3 separate regions of the Homo sapiens genome follow, and regions 2 and 3 are each linked to region 1. The links are contacts of gene promoters, found by promoter capture Hi-C in human tissues and cell types (Jung and others, 2019). All regions are on one chromosome and are shown on one strand. Each heading gives the region's core, a stretch centred on a gene start or on the middle of the fragment in contact. The rest is flanking DNA. Distances are from core to core; before and after follow the strand shown.

The links. Contacts are between HindIII fragments. The study calls those that stand out against the background at their distance.
Region 2: a fragment that was not itself captured here is called in contact with the fragment with the promoter of CASP14 in region 1 in 5 of the 25 tissues and cell types used here (H1 embryonic stem cells, adrenal gland, bladder and 2 more).
Region 3: a fragment that was not itself captured here is called in contact with the fragment with the promoter of CASP14 in region 1 in 3 of the 25 tissues and cell types used here (mesendoderm cells, pancreas and stomach).

The regions. Positions count from the first base shown.
Region 1 is chr19:15,047,363-15,052,040 of GRCh38, forward strand. It overlaps CASP14 (caspase 14), which reads left to right and starts at 2,118. Exons shown (of 7, transcript NM_012114.3): 1 at 2,118-2,283. The HindIII fragment of the contact is 29,360 bases long and covers 1-4,678 here.
Region 2 is chr19:15,101,032-15,105,709 of GRCh38, forward strand. No RefSeq gene overlaps it. Among named protein-coding and RNA genes, the nearest start is that of SYDE1, 4.0 kb to the right of the region's middle. The HindIII fragment of the contact is 6,045 bases long and covers 1-4,678 here.
Region 3 is chr19:15,001,855-15,006,532 of GRCh38, forward strand. It overlaps a transcript of SLC1A6 not described here. Among named protein-coding and RNA genes, the nearest start is that of TEKTL1, 6.5 kb to the right of the region's middle. The HindIII fragment of the contact is 9,530 bases long and covers 1-4,678 here.

The DNA.
Region 1 (4,678 bases), core at 868-3,367:
AGCCAGACACAAAAATCACATAGTGTATGATTCTATTTCTGTGAAATATCCAGAACAGGGAAACCTGCAGAGACAGAAACTCGGCTAGTGGTTGCCTAAGGCTGGGATGTATGGAGAGATTGGGAGTGATAGCTAAAGGGTACTGGGATTCTTTTGGGGGGTGATAAAAATGTTCTAAAATGAGCCAGGTGTGGTGGCCCGCGCCTGTAATCTCACACTTTGGGAGGCCGAGTGGGGAGGATCCCTTGAGGCCAGAAGTTCGAGACCAGCCTGGGCAACACAGCAAGACTTTGTCTCTACAAAAAATCTTGAGGAAAAAAGTAGCAAGGCATGTACGTGCACACCTGTAGTCCCAGCTGCCCAGGAGGCTGAGGTGGAAGGATCGAATAAGCCCAGGAGTTTTAAGCTGCAGTGAGCTGTGATCGCTCCACTGCACTCCAGCCTGGGTGACAGATCTTATCTCCGAAAAAAGAAAAAACAAAATGTTCCAAAATGAACTGACGCAATGGTTGCATCACTGTGAATATATTGAAACCCACTGGATTGCACACTTCAGGTGGGTGAATTGTATAATACGTAAATTATATCTCATTTAAGCTGTTGCTATCGAACCGAGTTTGTTCTTCCTCTGTGCAGCAAGCCAATCAATGTAATGACAGATTTTGCAGAAGAGGAAGAGTTCGTTCATGAGGCAATTAAGCGACGAGGTGGTAAAACAGGTCTCAAATTCTCCTCCCCAAAAATAGGGTTTGAGGGTGCTTATGGGATAGAAAACGGGGTGATCTAAAGTACGGAGAAAGGTGACTGGCAGGTAGGGAAGGTGAGGTAATCAGAATTTCTGAGCAAGCATGGTTGAGCTACATGGCTTTAGATAGGACATTTGTGCAAAAAATAGCATTTAGCATGATCTGAAGGTGGAGTTTACGGCCCTCTGATATCAGCTACCCACATAGGTGCAGTTGAAGGGTCAGTGATCTCCACTGGCTTAAACTAAACAAGAGCTGCCTCCTACCTAGTTCCTGAAAAACAACTTTAAGCACCCATTACTATAGTGTCCCACAGACAAAAATGTTATCTGTAAGGAAGCCAGTGGGAGTTTAGTTATGCATTATTTGGCTACGTGACTTGCTAGTGGCGCTTTTAAGATCAACTATAAGTAAGCAATTAAAAGTAAGTAAGCAATTAAACGCAAGGCAGATTAAGTCTGGAGGGCTTAATCAGGTTCGCCTTTGGTTTCACTATTAACATAAGAAATAAAATGAAACAAAATGGCTGAAAAATAATAAGAGGAGGAGGAAGAGAGGAATCATCATGATGCATCAGTTAAGGCAACTGGGCTGGAACATTTTAGGGGTTGTTTGTTTGTTTTTATATTTAAGACAGAGTCTTGCTCTGTCACCCAGGCTGGAGTGCAGAGGCACAATCTTAGCTCGCTGCAGCCTCAAACTCCTAGGCTCAAGCCAGCCTCCTACCTCAGCCTCCTGAGTAGCTAGGACTATAGGTATATGCCATCATTTTTATTATTATTATTATTTTAGTGACAGGGTCTCACTATGCCCCGGCTGGTCTCAAACTCCTCACCTCAAGCGATCCTCCTGCCTTGGCCTCCCAAAGCGCTGGGACTACAGACGTGACCCACCACACCTCACCCCTTATAGGGTTGAATGCCAACTGTGCCAATTGCTGACCTTGGGCAGTCATTTCACCTCTATGAGCCTCAGTTTCTCCATCTGCAAAATGGGAGCAAAAATACTGATCTGTCTAGACTCTTGAAGACTCGATGAGATAATAACTAAGTGAAGTCGGTGTTATCTACACAGTGGAAGGTGAGATGAATAAACTAGGCATAATGATGATGGTAATAACCAGATGGGCTGGCTATGGGATGGGGGTTGGGAGAGGTTGTGGCTGGGCTGGCACAGACATCTGACTCATTTAGACTCTCTGCCTAGGCCACCTTTGCCAGAGGGAGTCCCCTCAGCCTTGCGATCACTCATCCCATTGGCGTTGGCTCCATTTCCACACCACAGCTGTGTGCCAAGGGTGTGTCATGAGGTTTCTTGAGTGACAGAAAACTCACCGACAATAAAGGGCCAGGTGATTGTGCCACCCGATTCATAGACCAGGCTTCTCAGGAGAAACCCCGGGAGATTCCACACTGTCAGCCCCTTCTCCAAGATCAGTACGTGGGCCTGACTCCTCCTCGGTGCCCAGCTCAGTATTGGCAACTAGGAGAGTAGTGAGATTGAACTTGGCCTTGAGGAACAGCTGCCTCTAGAGTTGGTAAGTGATTTGGTGGATATTAGCCTCTCTCTCTCTCTCTCTCTCTCTCTCTCACACACACACACACACACACACACACACACACACGCACATACACACATACGCTCCCTCTCCCTTCATGAATTAATGCTCTGGCCAGTTTTGGCAGAATGGAAGAAATTTCCATCCATCCCCTCTTTCTTTTCATCTGTTCATTTTTTTCTTATTTGTTTACTCAGCAAATTCTCTCCAACACCACCTCTGTGCTCCCTGCCACACTGTTGGCCATGATGGAGACAGAGATAATGAAGTCAGGCTTTCAGTCCTGAAAACTGAGCTGCCAGTTCAGCCATGAGAGTAAGAATCAAAAACACTGCTGTAATTCAAGTAGGAGCAAGCAGAGCTGTGAGAGTCCAGAGAAGGAAGAGGAAAGTTCCAGGAGGTCAAGAGGGATCCTAAAACCTACCTGGGTCACCATTGCTGTTAAGCACCTAGAGCTCTCCCCAGGTCCTTTGCGGATGGGAAAATCGAGTCTCAGAGAGGAGAGTGAGATGCCGAAGGTCACACAGCTGGGAAGGGACTGAGGCAGGATTCGGTTCTGGCTCCAGGGCTATGCTCCTTCCACTTCCTCCCTCACAATCTTTGGCTCCTCTTTCGTCACAGCACTTGCTGTGTGTGTGTGTGAGTGTGTGTGTGTGAGAGAGAGAGAGAGAGAGAGAGATTTAATATTCATTTCTGTCACAGACTAGAGCTACAGAAGGACAGAAAGTCAGGGAGCATGTCTGTCTTACTTAATGGATTCTAAGTGCATAACACATAATAGATACCCAGAAAATATTTGCTGGGTAGGTGGGTGGGTGGGTGGATGGATTGATGGATGGATGGATGGATGGGTGGGTGGGTAGATGGATAAGTAAATAGGTGGATGGATAGATGGAAGATAGAGATGATGGATGAAGGAATGGATAGAAGGAGGGCTAGATGGAGGGATAGTTGGAAGATAGAATAGATGGAGGGATGGAAGACAGAGAGAGATAATGGATGAATGGATGGATGGATGGATGAATGAATGAGTGGTTGGATGAATAAGTGGATGGATAGATAGATGGATGGGTAGATAAATGGGTTGATGGAAGAATGAATGGGTATATGGGATGACTGATTAATAGATGGGTAGACAGACGGATGAATAGATGTGTGAGTGGGTGGATGGATGGATGGATGAGTGGATAGATAGGTAAGTGGAAAGATAAATTGGTGGATGGGTTGATGAATAAAAGGATGGATGTTAAATTGGATTGATGGATGACTAGATAGATGTGCGGGTGGAAGGATGGGTGGATGGGATGACTGATTAATAGATAAGTAGATGGACAGATGAATAGATGGAAGGGTGAGTGGGTGAATGGATGGATAGATGATGAATTAATGGATAGATGGTAGATGGATAGATGAATGAATTGATGGGTGACTGGATAGATAGATGGATAAAAACATAGATGAATGGATGGTTGATGGGGGAAGGCATAGCAGATATTATGCCACCAAAATTGTCAGAGAAGGATCTAGATAGAAAAAAAAAAAGCATTCCCGGTGGGGTGCAGTGGCTCACATCTATAATCCCAGCACTTTGGGAGGCTGAGGTGGGCAGATCATGAGGTCAGGAGATCAAGACCATCCTGGCTAACACAGTGAAATCCCGTCTCTACTAAAAATACAATAAAATTAGCCAGGCATGGTGGCGCATACCTGTAGTCCCAGCTACTCGGGAGGCTGAGGCAGGATCATCACTTGAACCCAGGAGGCAGAGGTTGCAGTGAGCCGAGATCATGCCACTGCACCCCAGACAGCCTGGGTGACAGAGTGAGATTCTGTCTCAAAAAAAAAAAAAAAAAAAGCAAAAAGCATTCCCTACTGAGGAGAAAGTGTAGGAAAAGGCAAAGAGATGGGGAAATGCCAAGAGTATGACAAAAGTCTGTCTGTGCAGCCAGAGAAGAGAACAGGACTCAGAGATGAGAATGGAGAATGTGGACAGACATTCAGACTCAAGGAAGAGCAAGGGAGGTGGATTGACCCCTTCGTATTGGAGACCCAGTGAGATAATATCAAAGTTGCATTCCCCACTTCGATGACATTCTCCTTTTAAACACTCCTCCAAGGCATCTCTTTGAGATGGCTTCCCCAGCCCGTCATCTCCTAGGTAGAAGAGGCAAACACATGGGTCACTTGCCCTGCTCCTCATTCCAGGGCTTTCAGGGGAAGTTCAGTCCACCAGAAGCTGGTGAATGACCCACGGGAGACACAGGAAGTTTTTGGGGGCGGAGTGGGGGACATTGTGGGGTAGGCTCAGCAGTTCTGAAGAAGACATCCAGAAATGGAAGACATCGTGAAATTGTCATTCTAGGGGTGATATATT
Region 2 (4,678 bases), core at 843-3,342, 54 kb after region 1:
CCAGGTGAGACTGTGCCCTGCCTCAGGAAGCTGCTTTATGCTAACAGAATTCATAACCATTTCATTATATACAATCATCCCCTCTCCCTCCAGCTCCTGAATGCTACTGTGATGGATATCTCTGGGCAGCCACCCCTTTGCTGGTTCCTCTGAGGTCTGACTTCCAGCCAGGGAGGCCTAGGCAGGCTGAGGTATTCACCTTCTTCTCCTGGAAGATGCCAGATAGACGCAAGCCTCAGGTGTGGAAACAAATGGGAATGACCACAGCGGGTGGAGGAAGCTTGGGTCCTGCTCCCCAAAACCTTCTCTATCTCCCATCCCCCAGGAACTGAGCACCCCAGGGAGCTGGTAGAATGGAGATGTAGCCCCACAGAACCACGCCCCATGCCCATAGCCTTGAAAACAGCCTAATTTATTATTCCCTTTGCACATGAAACAGAGGCCTAGACAGAATGTCTGTGTTTGGAGTCCACCAGAAGCCAACCTTGAGACAAGGATTCAAGTATTTAGGAAATAAACAGGAAATACTGTAAGTGGGGTGGATATGTGGGAGAGGGAAGGGAAGGAAGTCAGCAAAGAGTGTATTGATAACCAGGTTTCTACAGTGGACAGCTGGAGCTCAATCCCGTGGGTGAACACTAGGGGTCAGTGTAGAACATGAACCTCAATCATCCAACACAAGGGTGAGGGAGCTGGGGTATTTATCCATCAATTCCCCTTGACTACCACAGAGGTGCTGAGCTCTGCCCAAAACTGACAGGAAATGGTCTTTTGGTCTTTCAACTAATTGGTCTATATGTGTCTGGGGCTGGTTAATCCACCAGGTACCAAAAGCACAGCACATCAGACCTGCAGCCAATGAGAACATTTAGGGGAAAGAAAACACACACGTGGCCAGGTGCAGTGGCTCACACCTGTAATCCCAGCACTTTGAGAGGCCAAGGAAGAAGGATCGCTTGAGGTCAGGAGTTTGAGACCAGCCTGGGCAACATAGCAAGATCCTGTCTCTACAAAAAAAATTTAAAAGCTAGCTGGGTATGGCAGTGCATGCCTATAGGCCTAGCCACTCAGGAGGCTGAGGCAAGAGGATTGCTTGAACCCAGAAGTTCAAGTCTGCAGTGAGCTATGATCACACCAATGCACACCAGCTTGGGTGACAGAGGGAGATTATGTCTCTAAAAATAATAAGGCCAAGCACGGTGGCTCACACCTGTAATCCCAGCCACTTGGGGGGCCAAAGTGGGAAGATCACTTGAGCCCAGAAGTTTGAGAACAGTCTAGGCAACATGATGAGACCCTATCTCCACAAAAAAATAGAAAAATCAGCCTGTGGCATGGTGGCACATGCCTGTAGTTCCAGTTGCTTGGGAGGCTGAGGCAGGAACATCACTTGAGCCTAGGAGGTTGAGGGTGCAGTGAGTTGTGGTAGTGCCACTGCACTACAGCCTGAGCAACAGAGCAAGAAAAATAAATAAAATAATAATAATAAAGTAAATAAAAATAACATGAAAATAATTTTTAAAAAATTTGAGACAGAGTCTTAGTCACCCAGGCTGGAGTGCAGTGGCACGATCTTGGCTCACTCCAACCTCTACCCTCTGGGTTCAAGCGATTCCCCTGCCTCAGCCTCCCGAGTAGCTGGGATTACAGGTGCCTGCCACCATGCCTAGCTAATTTTTATATTTTTAGTAGAAACGGGGTTTCACCATCTTGGCCAGGCTAGTCTTGAACTCCTGACCTCGTGATCCACCCGCCTCAGCCTCCCAAAGTGCTGGGATTACAGGCATGAGCCACAGTGCCCGGCCATGAAAATAAATTTTTTTAAAAGAAAAGAAAATGGGCCAGGCACGGTGGCTGACCCCTGTAATCTCAGCTCTTTGGGAGGCCAAGGTGGATGGATCACAAGGTCAGGAAATCGAGACCATCCTGGCCAACATGGTGAAACCCCATCTCTACTAAAAATATAAAAATTAGCTGCACGTGGTGGTGTGTGCCTGTAATCCCAGCTACTCAGGAGGCTGAGGCAGCAGCATCGCTTAAACCAGGGAGTCACAGGTTGCAGTAAGCCAAGATCGTGCCACTGCACTCCAGCCTGGGCAACAAAGCAAGACTATGTCTCTATAAAAGAAAAGAAAAGAAAATGTACGCATACAGGCTCTAAAATCTGTACAGCAACTAGCAAAATCCACAGGAATAAGCATACAAACATCATTATGAAACTTAGAATTCATAACCATTTCATTACATACAATTTGCAGATAATCTGTTCTCACTTATGGAAATTTCTGATTGCTAAGAAAGAATCAGAGCCAATGGTGAATTAAATAGGCTACATGCAGGCAAATAAAGACAACAGGAAAAGTACAAAAACTCAAAAAGATTTACACAAAATAATAATAATAAATATTTATGTGGTATGTGGGTGTCATATGGGTGGGGCTAAGGGTTGCTCTCACTCCCATGTCAGACCCCAGCTCCTCTGAGACTCTGAAATACCCCATTGGGACCTTAGTCCTGCAGCCTCTACCCTCAACTTGTAAACAGGTATTGTCTTGACCCCTGACTTCTTTCCCCATTGTCAATAGCTGCCTCAAAGACATCTGCGCAGGGATCTCATAGGGAGGAGGGTGCACTCCACCCTTTTACAGACTGATGCCCCCCAAACACACATATCCAAGAAAAGTGAACAGCACCTAGGAGAACTGTATATCAACAGTTGTATAATGAGTATACCAATATATGCATAATGAGAGTCCCAGAAGGAGAGAAGTGAAAGGAGCAGAAAGAATATTTGATGAGGCTGGGTATGGTGGTTCATGCCTATAATCCCAGCACTTTGGGAGGCCAAGGTGGGCAGATCACTTAAGGTCAGAAATTTGAGACCGGCCTGGCCAACATGACGAAAACCCATCTCTACTAAAAATACAAAAATTAGCTGGGCATGGTGACAGGCACCTGTAACCCCACCTACTTGAGAGGTTGAGGCAGGAGAATCACTTGAACCCAGAAAGCAGAGGTTGCAGTGAGCCAAGACCATGCCTCTGCACTCCAGCCTGGGCAACAGAGTGAGACTCCATCTCAAAAAATAATAATAATAATATTTGATGAAATAATGGCCAAAAAACTTCCCAGAAGCCCAGAATTGATGAAAGACATGAATCTACATATCCACAAAGCTCAACAAACTCCAAGTACAATAAACACAGAGAACCACACAAAGACACATTAAAACCAAACACACACAGCCTCCTCGTCCAGGCCTCTTGGACACCCCCTCCTATACAGACCTCCATCACCTGACACCTGATCTCCTACCTGAATATTCAGCAGTGAACAACATAGACAAGCATCACTTGATCACTTGGTGGAGACCCAGTCTGGACGAGGAGGCAGATAAACTAGAACAAACCACTGGGACTGTTAAATTCAAGTTGTGGCAAGTGTTAGAAGAAAGGAAACTGAGTAATGTGATACTGACTAGACAGAGGTGGTGGACAGAAAGGGTCTCCCTAGAAGGTGCCATTGGACCTAAAGGATGAGAGAGAGGTGGCCTCAGAAGAACCAGGGCTTCCCAGGCAGAAGGAACCATGTGTGCAAAGGACCTGAGGCAGAAATAGCTTGATATGAAGGAGAACCAGAAAGGAGGCCATGGTGAGTGAATGGGACAGCCAAAGAGATGAGGCTGGAAGTCTTGTGAGACCATGCTGGGAATCTGAATTTTATTCTAGGTGAGGTGAGCAGTCATAGGAACACTATTCAGCAGGATGGTGCCACAATCTGATTTCAGTTTTAAGTCCACTGTGGGTAATATATGGAGAATGAAATGTAGGGCTAAGACAGGTTATATTTTCCCAGATGGCCACAATATCTCCCACCCTACATCCACTTGTACAATGTCACCTTGACATGCCTCCCATGTAGAGAGGTATAATCTGTGCCCCCTTTCCTTGAATCTGGTGGCAGAAGTGACACAGCATGACACTCAAGGCTGGGTCAGAAGAGATGCAACTTCTTCCTTGTTCACTTTTAGAGGGCTGGGTGGCTGTCTAAGAAGTCTGACTACCCCAAGACCACCATGCTGGAAGGAAACCCGAACCACACGGAGAGGCCTGTGTAGCTACCCTGGTCCACAGCCCCAGCAACAGCTGGCGTCAGTTGCAAGACCTCTGAGTGAAGACACCTCCAGATGACTCAGGACCCTGCCATTTTTTAGTCACCCTCTAGCCTAAGTCTCCCCTGTCCAAACTGAACCACAGCATCTGTGAGCATCATGTAAACCAAAAGGTATCTCAGATAAGTCTCAATAAATTTAGAAAGCTTATTTTGCCAAGGTTATGGACATGCCTGTGACACAGACTTAGAAGCTCCTGACAACATAAACTAGGGTAGTCAGGGCCACTACCTTGATTCAGGTCTGTAATCCTAGCTACTTGGTAGGCCAAGGCGGGCAGATCACTTGAGACCAGGAGGGTTTTTTGTTTTGTTTTGTTTTTTTGTTTTGTTTTTTTGAGACGGAGTTTCACTCTTGTTGCCCAGGCTGGAATGCAGTGACACAATATTGGCTCCCTGCAACCTCCGCCTCCCGGGTTCAAGAGATTCTCCTGCCTCAGCCTCCCGAGTAGCTGGGATTATAGGCATGCACCACCACCCCCAGCTAATTTTGTGTTTTTAGTAGAGA
Region 3 (4,678 bases), core at 1,538-4,037, 45 kb before region 1:
TTTACCATGTTGCCCAGATTGGTCTCAAACTCCTGGGCTTAAGCAATTCATCCGCCTCAGTCTCCCAAAGTGCTGGGATTACAGTAGTGAGCCACCACACCTGGCCCTAACCTAACTATTAATACCCAAATTCACTAATGAGAAAAAGATTTTCCAAGTAAAAAGTGAGGAATGAGAAGTGAATGGAGAATGAAAACCTGATGCACACGCTATTTCTCTTTTATTTTATTTTATTATTGTTTTATTTTGTTTTGAGACAGGATCTTGCTGTGTTACCCAGGCTGGAGTGCAGTGGTGCGATCATAGCTCACTGCAGCCTCCATCTCCTGGGCTCAAGCGATCCTCCCACCCCAGCCTCTTGAGTAGCTCAGATTCCAGATATGCACCACCACATCCAGCTGTTTTTTGTTTTGTTTGGTTTGGTTTGGGTTGGGTTTTTTGTTTTGTTTTGTTTTTTGTTTTTAAGAAACAGGGTCTTGCTATGTTGCCCAGGCTAGCCTCAAACTCCTGGCTTCAAGCAATCCTCCTACCTCAGCCTCCCAAAGTGCTGGAATTATAGGCATGAGCCACCATGCCTGGCTTGGATTTCTTCAGAGTGAGCAAGTGAAAGAGCAAGCAAGAGAGAGCAGAACAGAAGCCATGATCGCTTTGTAACCTAATCTCAGAAGCAGCATCTATCATGTTTGCCATAGGCTGTTGGTTACAAGTGACACATCAGGTCCAGCCCACACTCAAGGGATTACACAGGGCATGAGGATCAGGAGGTGAGGACCATTCAGGGCCATCTGAAGATGCCTAACCCAGCTGAAAAAGAAATCCATCATATTTGAGGGGTGGATGGCGGACAACCAGCTAGTAAAGAACACAGAGTAGAGGTGAAAAAGAAAACATGTGAAAGAGCACAGGGGAGGGGATTCAAGTCACAGAGGGCTGACAATTTCAAAGCTACCAGGAGGTCAAGTTGAGCAGGATAGAAAAGAAACTGGAATTTGTCCATTGCAGGAAGACGTTGATGATGGATGCCTGAGCCATTATTTTTGTTTGTTTGTTTGTTTGTTTGTTTGTTTTCGGTTTGTGTTTTTCATTTTTGTCTTTTTGTTTTTTGTGGGATGTTGTTGTTGTTGTTGTTGTTATTTTGTTTTTTGTAATAGAGTCTCTGTCTCACCCAGGCTAGAGCACAGTGGCACAATCTCAGCTCACTGCAACCTCCGCCCCCCGGGTTCAAGCGATTCTCATGACTCAGCCTCTTGAGTAGCTGGGATTACAGGCATGTGCCACCACGCCCAGCTAATTTTTGCATTTTTGTACAGATGGGGTTTCACCATGTTGGCCAGGCTGGTCTCGAACTCCTGGCCTCAACTGATCTGCCTACCTCAGCCTCCCAAAGTGCTGGGATTACAGGCATAAGCCACCGTGCCTGGCCTGCCTGAGTCATTTTGAGGGACTGACCAGGGGTACAGCCATAGACACAGGTCCTTGTCACTCACTGACCAGCAAGGTCACTGCCTTTGCAGGAGATGACAGGGAAGAACCAGGAAGCACCTCCTCTCCCAGCCTGGGGCTTCCCACCATCTCCTGACACCTCCACCAGAAAAGCGACCTCATTTCTCAAAGACAAAACAGATTCTAGGTCATATCCCCCTGGAATGAGAGACCAATTGATGTGATTATCTCCAAGAGAAAGAGGGGCACCTACTAAAAGTAGAACCTGGTGTCCCAGAAGGGAAGACATCGGGGAACCTAAAAAGGGGTCTCTGATAATTACCTGCCAAGATTTCACAGCGAAGGGCATCTCCATGTAATGCCAAAAAAAAAAAAAAGAAAGAAAAGAAAAGAAAAAAGGCTAGAAGTTTTAGAAGGTGCTCCTTCTTCATCCATTCTGCAATTTCACTCGATTTCGCCCAAAAGCAGAATTCTGCTCCCTACATTGCATGAATCAGTATATAGAACAGGTGGCCCCAGCAAAGTTGCAAAAAGGAATTTCTATAAAGTGTTCTTTATTATAAAAATCAAGAGAGCTGCCAGGTGTGGTGGTTCATGCCTGTAATCCTAGCACTTTGGGAGGCCAAGCCGGGTGGATTGCCTGAGCTCAGGAGCTCGAGACCAACCTGGGCAACATGGAGAAACCCCATCTCTATTAAAATACAAAAAATTAGCTGGGCGTGGTGGTGGGCCCCTGTAGTCCCAGCTACTCAGCAGGCTGAGGCAGGAGAATTGCTTGAACCCAGGAGGAGGAGGTTGCAGTGAGCCAAGATCACACCACTGCACTCCAGCGTGAGCAACAGAGCAAGACTCTGTCTCTAAAAAAATTAATAATGCATAAATAAAATAAATAAAAATCAGAGAGCTAATTTCACAAAGAAATATAACTCCCTATTGGCCTGAGTTAGAAGTATTTGGGCTTCAGTATATTGGGAGAAGGGAAATATGTATAGTTGTGTATATGCATGCACACATACACACACACACACAGAGGCATGGTGGGGGAATGAATGTGGAAATGGTTAGAGTGAAATCAAGATCAAGTTCAGAATAAGTATCTCTGGATAGTAAAACAAAAAATAAGGCTGGCCATGGTGGCTTGTGGCCATAATCCCAGCACTTTGAGAGGGTGAGGCAGGAGGATGGCTTGAAGCCAGGAGTTCAAGACCCAGACTGGGCAACATAGCAAGACCTCACCTCTACAAAAAAAAAAAAAAGTCAATTGTGATGGCATGCACCTGTAGTTCCAGCTATTCAGGAGGCTGAAGCAAGAGATCTCTTGAGACCAGGAGTTGGAGGCTTTAGTGAGCCAAGATTGTGCCACTTCATTTCAGCCTGGGTGACAGAGTGAGACTCTGTCTCCAGAAAAAAAAAAAAGATTCTTATTCATTTCATTATGTTTCCCATATTTTATACATTTTATACAAGGTGCATACCTTGCTTTCATAGCTTATTTGTTAGTTTAAGAGAGGTATTTAGGCTTGGAGAGTACTGAAAAATTTTCCTAGTCCTCGGTCTTGTGTACATAATGTTTCTGTAGATTTTTTGAACATCACTGTTTCTGTTCAGACACACGCAGGTGAATCACTTGGAAAATGAGAGCTAATCCCAGCCCAGCAATGAATGGTTCCTTCCAGACAGGCCAGGCACAGTTGCTCACATCTGAAACCCCAGAGCTTTGGTAGGCCAAGGCGGGAGGATTGTTTGAGTCCAGGAGTTTGAGACTAGCCTGGGCAACATAGCAAGATCGTGTCTCTACAAAAACATTTTTAAATTAGCCAGGCATGGTAGCACATGCCCATAGGGCCAGCTACCCAGGAGGCTGAGGCAGGAGGATTGTTTAAGCCCAGGAGTTCAAAGTTGCAGTGAGCCATGATGGTACCACTGTACTCTACTCTGGGTGACAAAGCAAGACCCTGTCTCAAAAAAAAAAAAAAAAAAGCAGGGCACGGTGGCGGTCAGGAGTTCACGAATAGCCTGGCCAACAATGGTGAACAAATTGTTCTACTAAAAATACAAAAAATTAGCTGGGCGTGGTGGTGGGCATCTGTAATCCCAGCTACTCAGAAGGCTGAGGCAGGAGAATCACTTGAACCTGGGAGGCGTAGGTTGCAGTGAACCGAGATCGCGCCACTGCACTCCAGCCTGGGCAACAAGAGTGAAACTCCTTCTCACAAAAACAAAAAAACAAAAAAACCAGATAACTCACCTGTTCTTCAAATACATATCAGGCTAGAGAAGTGTCCAAAATGGGTCATCAAAGCCAGGAGCTAGCAGTGAGTTTTTGGAAGTTGATATAGAGAATGGAAACTGGGATTGGGAGATGGAAATGAGAAGTTGGTCTGATTAAGCAATGGTCTGCACCAATTTCAATGCTTAGATAATAGTATCATATACTAGCAGCGTGTTGGTGTCAGCGTGTTAAACTAATAAAAAGCCAGAATGTAACAGCCTGCATAGCCCTAATGCATTTCACCAGAGAGCCATGTGGAAGCCAAAATCCTCACATGCAGATCTGGCATGAGGAAGCTTCCTAAGCGTCTCTCAGGTAGCTTGGTACAAGTTCTGCCCAACAGAGGTGCTTCATACACCAGGCAGCAAGCCTACCCAAATGAGATCCCCTGGTTGGGAAGGTGGACGTACTTCATGAACAAAGCAAAGGTAGATGGTTGTGTGCAGGTCATCTCACATGAGGTGTCTCCCTGGTTCTTTGTGAAACCCTCTCTGGACCTCTTCTGGTTTTGAAATAGCTCATTCATGGATTCATTCTATTAATAAAAGTCAAAAGTAAACACTTACATAATGCTTACTAGGTGTCAGCCATGGTGCTAAGCACTTCATTCATATTAACTCATTGTCTCCATGCCACAATCCTATTACCTGAGTTGACAGATGGGGCAACGCAGGCACAGAGATGTTAAGTGAATTGCTCGAGATCACGTAGACAGCAAGTGGCAGAATCATAATTTGAATCCTAGTTCATCTGGATCCAGAATACAGACCATAATATCCTCCTGATGCTCATGAAAATTTGTTGAACCAGATACCACTGGTCCCAGCAGCAAATGACTGTGCTAACCCCATATTCCCAAGCCTCCATCGCCAAAGGTTATCTGGCCCCATTTCTTGCTAGTGGCCCTAAAGAACATAACGGCGGGTCTCCAGGATGGCTGGCGTGGGAGTCGCTGGTTGCCCA